2 separate regions of the Homo sapiens genome follow, and region 1 is linked to region 2. Evidence: promoter capture Hi-C in human tissues and cell types (Jung and others, 2019). All regions are on one chromosome and are shown on one strand. The core of a region is centred on a gene start or on the middle of the fragment in contact, and the rest is flanking DNA. Distances in the headings are between cores, read along the strand shown.

Region 1 (3,552 bases), core at 691-3,190, 81 kb before region 2:
GTTTGATTTGTTTTGTTTTTTTTAATTCCATTTTGATAATTTTTTTCCTGCTCTGGGTGGTGGTGGCACATGGATGAATGAGTATTTAATAAAAGTTCCAAATTTCCACCTGGGTCCCTCCATCCTTTCAGCTCTAGGCCCGGGTGGCAGGGTTGGTCAAATCAGGCTATCAGCCCTGTCTCCCTGGCACAAACCCCACTCAGCCTTGGTGCCAGAGTGGTGGGGCTGGCCTGCCAGGGACACAGGTGGGAAGGAAGCCCAGTATAAGATAAAGCCCTGAGGAGCTGCTGGTGGCTTCTTGCCCACAGCTGAGCAGGTGGGCTCCAGGGTAGCCAAACAGGACCAGGGTGACCGCTGCTTCCAGGCTCTGGCTGAATCTCAGGCCTCATGTGATTGAGCTGGGGGAACTCTTTTCCTGCCTTTTCTTGTGAAACGTAGTCAGAGCCCCTCCAACCCAGCCACCCCCAAATCACACAGTCAGCTTCTCCAAGAGGGCAAAGCCCCAGGTTAGAGTGAGGCTGGGGGACACCTTTGCCAAGGTTACTGAGATTCAAGGAGCAGAGTCTGATGCCTCTGGAGCTGAAGTCTTGGCTCTATTACCCAGCTCTGGGGGTGCCCACCTAGGTGCCTAGGACTGTGCTGTGGGATTTCAAAGCCACAATCAGACCCCACTGAAAAGTGAGTTGGTGAGACCAGATCAGCTCCAGGGGGAAGAAGGGATACAGGGGAAGGCACTTGATGGGAAGAAGCTCTGGGTTTGACTCTGCCTACACAGGAACATTGCAGGGATTGGTGGTGCCTCTTTTCCTCTCTCTGCTGTGATGGATATGCCCCAACCCCTTCCTGCCTCCTAGGATTGGAACCCCCTCCTCTGATCCAGGCATCCTCTCCCAGGATGCCTAGAAAGCTCCCATTTACTCTTGCCACCAGCTCCTTGGGAAGAGAGGGGCGGGGGCGTGCTTCCAGGCAGGAGGTATTCCCAGCACCTTACTTGGAGGGATTTTTATTTGGCTTAGGGGGTAGGGGGAGGTGTCTTAGAATTGGCCTGAGCAGATGTCTTCAACATCTGTGACCACCATTCCTGGTGTGGGCGTGTCCCAGTCCTTTTGGACACTGGATCTGAAGAAAGGAAGCACTGACATGGAGGGCCCTGAATCCCAAGCCTGCTGCTGCTGGGACCCTTAAAGTTGAGGTGCACCACAAGGCTCACCCCCATGTGTTTCAGGAAGTTTCCAGTGTCTTCAGGGCTACTGGGGCTAGAGTGGGCAGTGCTCTGAGTACCGTTTAGAGCCAGTGCTGAGGGGATAGGGAGCCAGCAAGTCAAGTGCCACATCCTGACCTGGAGAGGTGCCCTGGCCCATTTCCTTCTCCAGCTTTGTGATGTTGCCTTTGTTTCCTTCCACTTGGATGGAGTCCCACCACCATGGTAATGTTAAGTAGCACCAAAAGCTCTACCCAGAGCCTACTATGTGCTTTACGTCCATTCTCAGACATTCTTACAACACGGAGGCATTTTTCCTGCTTTACAAATGAGGAAACTGCTCAAGGAGGTTAAGTAACTTACCCAAGGCCTCCTATGTTGAACTAGGACTGGACCTTTACTCTGTCTGACCCCAATATCAGGATGAGCTTGCTTTTTCCCTCAGCAAGCTGCGTCTGGGAGCCCTGGAAGGCTCCAGAAGCCTCCGGGTCTGAGGAGGCTTCTAAAAGGGCCTCACATGCCCCGGGAGCCACGTGGATACAGAACGAGGGTTCCCGCTCTCGGAGAGTTGGTCCCCAGTTCCCATGCAGGGAGTGGAGCCTCTGAGCACTGCCAGAACAACAGGCAGGGTTCTCGACAGCACAGAGCCTCACGCAATGTGCAGGCAGGTGGTGCTCTCGCTCCACCACGGCACCTCTGCGGTCTCTGCAGCCGTTTGCATTTCCTGAAACCGGATCTTAGTGTCAGAGCCGCCCCCAGCCGGGCGGGCGCCTCAGCCATGGCCCTGCGCAAGGAACTGCTCAAGTCCATCTGGTACGCCTTTACCGCGCTGGACGTGGAGAAGAGTGGCAAAGTCTCCAAGTCCCAGCTCAAGGTGAGGGGCACCCGGGACCCGGGGGAGGACGGCAGATGCACCACACCAGCCCCTGCCGCCTGGGAGCCAGGTGTGGACACTGTGCCACTCCAGGGGCACCCAGCCATCCAGCGTCCCGGGCCTGGGGTCGGGGGGCTGGTCCTGGGTAACTGGGCCAACGTAGCCTGGTAGATGCCGCTGCCCACCCTCCAGAGACCTAGTGAAGTGTGTGCAGAAACCTTGCGCAGAACTGGGCCCCACAACTGGAGGCCAGGAGGTTCTGAGGGCCATTATGGGGTTCTGAGGGCCAGGAGCCAGGCCACATCCCAGACTCTGTGTGATGAGCACACACACCTCCACAGAGTCATGCTTGGGCACGCAGTGTGCTCTTTCTTGCTGCTTCCTCCTGACTTTCAAGAGAAACAGTTAGCCAGTGCTTGGCAGTCATTTCCTCTGGAGCTGAGAGAGGCATAAAGGGGCCGCCCCCAGTCCCAAACCTGTCTGGCCTGTCTAACCCTGCCCGCCAGGTGGGACAGAGCTGCGGAGTGGGTGAGGACTGAGGACCCTATTATACTGCTACGCAGCTCACCCCCCTATCCACCACACATATCAGGTTGGGAAACTTACCTTAGGCCTTGAGACCTCAGGTAGGGAAGGGGGAGAATCTAAGCCCAGGAAAATCCCAATCAATGATTGTCCTGAAGTCAATCATCTGGCCTAGACAATTTCTGGGAGGCCAAGGAGTTTTTCTCTCTCTTCCTCTAGTCCTCCAGTAGTGCTGCCTTCCCTACCCTAGTTAGTGGGGAGGAAGCAAGGCCCTCAGCCACTAGAATCAGCGAACACTGGGGGAAAGGAGCAAGGTAGGCCTCAGCTCTCTAGGACCTGCCATAGGGGTGCCTTCGTTCACTCTGCAAGTACTTGAGTGCCCCTCGTGAGGCTCTGTGCCTGGCATGTGGCTAGGCACTAAACTGGTGTCTCCCTGCCCCATCCTCCAAAGGAGACGTGTGGTCTCAAGGAAACCTCCATTCTTAATGACCGAGGTAGAGGGTGCTGGATACCTGAGAGATGAATGGGACAGAACAGTTATTGTGCCCCACCACCGTTCCAACCCCCTACTTTACTGAACTTGGATGTGAGGAACTTGAATATCCCAAACTGGTCCTATGTTAAATTCCTTACCTGGATTTGTGAGCATCTAATAGATGATTTCACTCCCCCAGGAAGGAGAGCCCACTACTATCTTTTGTCACCTAGGGAGAACCTCCTAACAGGCAGATTCTTCCTTACATCCTATTTAAATCTCTTGTATTGCAGATCATGTCATTTGGTTGGGTCCTCAGTATAAATGGAAAAAAGTCGATCATCCAAAATCCATTTCTGCAAACTCTGTGTCCCACCCCTACCTCCCACCCTGTCCCTTTAATATCTTGCCAGACAATACCAGCCCCCGTGGCTTTTTGCTTCCAGGGTAACATTTTCCACTTCTGTATTACCTGTG
Region 2 (3,898 bases), core at 963-3,462:
GGTGGTGGGTGCCTGTAGTCCCAGCTGCTGGGAAGGCTGAGGCAGGAGAATGGCATGAACCCGGGAGGCAGAGCTTGCAGTGAGCTGAGATCACGCCACTGCACTGCAGCCCGGGCGACAGAGTGAGACTCTGTCTCAAAAAAAAAAAAAGAAAGGGTGACCTCCCACCCATACCTGACCCACAGAGCCTTGGAGAAGTGTTCAGCTTCTTGTTGCTTTCCTTTACTGGGCAGCCCTTTGAGGCTCTCTTCTTGATACTGGGGCTCAAAGCCACAGGCAGGCTTTAAACCGCTTCATTTGTGGGTGCGAAAGTCCACAGGCCATTGTGGTGTCAGTTCCACTCACTGTTTATGTTTCAATTCTTCTCGCACATAGGCATTTCTCTTTCCAATTTGGCTGCATGTCTACGGACGTCATTTGTTTTATTTTATCTGGTATTTTTCTGTGATAGTGGTGGAAAGGGGAAGCTCTTTCACGTTAATTTAGTCCCGTATCCTACTGAAAGTTTGTTCAAATGCTTAGCGTGTCATATGAAGCTTTTCATGATGCAGCCCATTCTACCTCTCCTGCATAAACTTAGCTCTTAAATTTTACACTTCAGCAAATTGAACTATTTGCATACCATGTACTGTAATGTTTAAAAGCACAGGTTTTAGGGTCCAGCTGTTTGGCTTGGAACCTGTCTTTTCATAAGGTATGATTTTGGACAAGTTACTTATCCCTTCCATAACTCAGCTTTCTCATCTGTAAAATGGCAGCGTCCGGCATGCAGTAACCCTGATCCCTGTTGGCTGCCTCTGTGGTTGCTGCCCCCAGCAGTTGAGGCTGCCAGGCCTCTGCGCAATTGCACTGTTTATTCCTTTGCTGGAATTGCCTGTCTCCCCTCCTCTCCTTGATCCCTCCCAGGAGAGCAGCCTTTACTCCTTCAGAGCTTGGGGTCTCTGTCTGTAGTAACTATCACTCTGTGGGTCGCTGCTTGTTTACGTATCTTTTTTTTTTTGAGACAGAGTGTTGCTCTGTCGCCAGGCTGGAGTGCAGTGGTGCGATCTTGGCTCACGGCAACCTCTGCCTTCTGGGTTCAGGCCATTCTCTTGCCTCAGCCTCCCACGTAGCTGGGACTACAGGCGTGCACCACCATGCCCAGCTAATTTTTGTATTTTTAGTAGAGACGGGGTTTCACCCTGTTGGCCAGGATGGTCTCCATCTCTTGACTTTGTGATCCGCCCGCCTCGGCCTCCCAAAGTGCTGGGATTACAGGCATGAGCTACTGCGCCTGGCCACGTATCTCCTTTTTTCAGCCGACTCTGACCCCCTTGAGAGCAGGGTCTTGTTTTTCTTGGTACTTGAAACTCCTTACATTCTACCTGTCATTTGGTGGGCATTCAGTGTTGGTAGTTTAATTGCATTGAATTTCTCTGGCTGAGTAGAGGCAAGTGCTGGGAGTGGTATGGGACGCAGAGGCAGGGAATGACAGCAGGAAAGCTTGTTTTTTGGCACATTTTGTGCCAAGTTGATGGAAATGTGAATCAGTATGGCTGGGACACAAGGTAACAATTCTTAGTCTAGCTGAGGATGCCAGAGACTTAAAACAAGCCAGTGGCCAGAAAAAGCCACTAAATCTTGCAAATTAAAGTGGTTTCCAGACTTAAGAATGCATGCCCCACATTCCCTTCCCAAACTCAGCGTCTCTGAGTGCCAGGTGGAGGAATACAAACTAATTATAATCCTAGTGGGCCCTGAGAATCTTTAATTTTAGAATAAGGCTGCACTTCTGAAAGGCGCAGTTGCTTTAGGAGTAGGTGACTCTGTATGCCCGGGGCCTCCGAGGAGACCAGGATGTGAAAACTCAGTACCTGGCATTTAGAGCTGTGTCACCCATCACTTCTGACCTCGTTAAGATTTCTACCCTACTGCGACTTAACAACTAAAAAGGGCAGATGAGATAGGTCCGGGGCAGAGCTTAATGGCCTGTGTCATTCTCCTCAGCTTTGCCTGAATTCTCTGGACTCTTGAGACTCTATCATAGGAATATTCTCAGAAGAGAAGGCAATCGAACCTTTAAAGATCCCCAGATTATCCATCAGATAACAGTCTCATGAGAGTGATGAACAATGACAGCACCAACTCTCAATTCCCTTGGCTGGAATTTCAGGAATCAGCTTGAACTCAGAGGTGGGCACAGGGTTAGGGCTTGGAGTAGGCGTCTTTTCTTTCTTTTTTTTTTTTTTTTTCTTTTTTGAGATAGCGTCTCACTCTTGTTGCCCAGGCTGGAGTGCAATGGCTCAATCTCTGCTCACTGCAACCTACGCCTCCTGGTTTCAAGCGATTCTCCTGCCTCAGCCTCCCGAGTAGCTGGGGTTACAGGCATCCGCCACCACGCTCGGCTAATTTTTGTATTTTTAGTAGAGATGGGGTTTTACCATGTTGCCCAGGCTAGTCTCGAACTCCTGACCTTGTGGTCTGCCCACCTTAGCCTCCCAAAGTGCTGGTATTACAGGCATGAGCCACCGCGCCTGGCTTGCAGTAGGCATCTTTGCCCAACCCACGTGAATCCCATTAGTTCTTTCTTGACAGCTCTCAGTCTGTGGTCATATATTAAGCAACTATGTGTTCAGTACTGTGCTGGGTGCTATTGCTGAAGATACGGAAATAGTAATGCCACAAGTCCCTCTTCTTAGAGAGGAGAGCTTGCACTCTAGTTGGAGAGAATTCCTAGCACACAGAAAGCTGCAACCAGTGGTGCCCAACAGTAATGCTGTCTGATGCCACTGCATGCAAGTGTGTCCCTTTGACAACTTGGTGCTTTTGCCCAAAAGGAGCTGTTCTCTTTCTGAGGCTTGGACTATTCGTTTGTTTTTTCTCAGATGACTTGCTGGCACTGTTACAGACTGGTCTGAATTAACTAGGACTACCTTTTATCTGTTTCTGAGGAATAGCCCCAAATGTGCTCTCTCTTGGTCTTTATGAACTTTTCCTTTCTTCCATTTCTCCAAATTATGATAGATTAACTTTGCAGTGTCATCTGCTAATCTCCAAGGTCTTCTAGGGGCACGTCATCAGCAGTTGCTGCTTTTGAGGTATCAAGGTTTGTCCTGTGGAGTCTCAGATAGTTTCTTTACCTGTTCAATGAATCTGATTTTCCATTTTTCTAGGAGAGTGTATCTCAAAGTGATTGCTGAATCAGAATGTCTGGGAGTGTGACTTGGAATCTATTACTGAAGATTAGAGGAAAATGTAGCAAATTGTGATCTGAAGCATTTATGGATGGATTGATGGATTGATGGATAGGGATTCTGACTGAGTTAGGTAGTCTATAGTCTCAGACAGTTGTGGAAGCTCCATTAGGTCATGAGCAACCCAGACTCCTTCCAATTCTGTGCCCTGCCATTCTTAGGGTGTGGCTGCTGTCCTCATGGTCCAAAATGGTTGCCGTGGTTCCACATCTCACAGTGAGATAGAAGAAGACAGAAGAATGATGTCTCACCTCCCTTCTAAGGAGACTTCAGCAAAGCCTGCCTCTACCACTTTCTGTGACTGAGGGAAAGTTAATTCATACTCAGAGCCAATTAACCTCGTGTTTTTTTTTTTTGTTTGTTTTTTTTTTTTTTTTTTTTTTTTTTTTTTGAGACAAGGTCTTACTTTGTCGCCCAGGCTGTAGTGCAGTAGCACAATCTCGGCTCACTGCAGCCTCGACCTTTCGGGCTCAAGCAGGGCTCCTCCCTGCTCAGCCTCCCGAGTAGCTGGAACTACAGGCACATGCACCACACCCGGCTAATTTTTAAATTTTTTCGTAGAGATTGGGGGTCTTGTTATGTTGCCCAGGTTGGTCTGGAACTCCTGGGCTCAAGTGATCCTCCTGCCCTGGCCTCCCAAAGTGCTGGGATTACAGGAGTGAGCC

The links. Contacts are between HindIII fragments. The study calls those that stand out against the background at their distance.
Region 1: the fragment with the promoter of DEF6 here is called in contact with a fragment that was not itself captured in region 2 in 2 of the 25 tissues and cell types used here (aorta and thymus).

Annotation. Positions count from the first base shown.
Region 1 is chr6:35,295,878-35,299,429 of GRCh38, forward strand. DEF6 (DEF6 guanine nucleotide exchange factor) reads left to right here and starts at 1,941. Exons shown (of 11, transcript NM_022047.4): 1 at 1,941-2,075. The coding sequence starts at 1,980. It overlaps ZNF76 (zinc finger protein 76), which reads left to right. Exons shown (of 14, transcript NM_003427.5): 14 at 1-108. RefSeq lists a silencer at 278-442. The HindIII fragment of the contact is 30,942 bases long and covers 1-3,552 here.
Region 2 is chr6:35,376,883-35,380,780 of GRCh38, forward strand. All of the region lies in intron 2 of PPARD (peroxisome proliferator activated receptor delta), which reads left to right. Among named protein-coding and RNA genes, the nearest start is that of PPARD, 36 kb to the left of the region's middle. The HindIII fragment of the contact is 8,220 bases long and covers 1-3,898 here.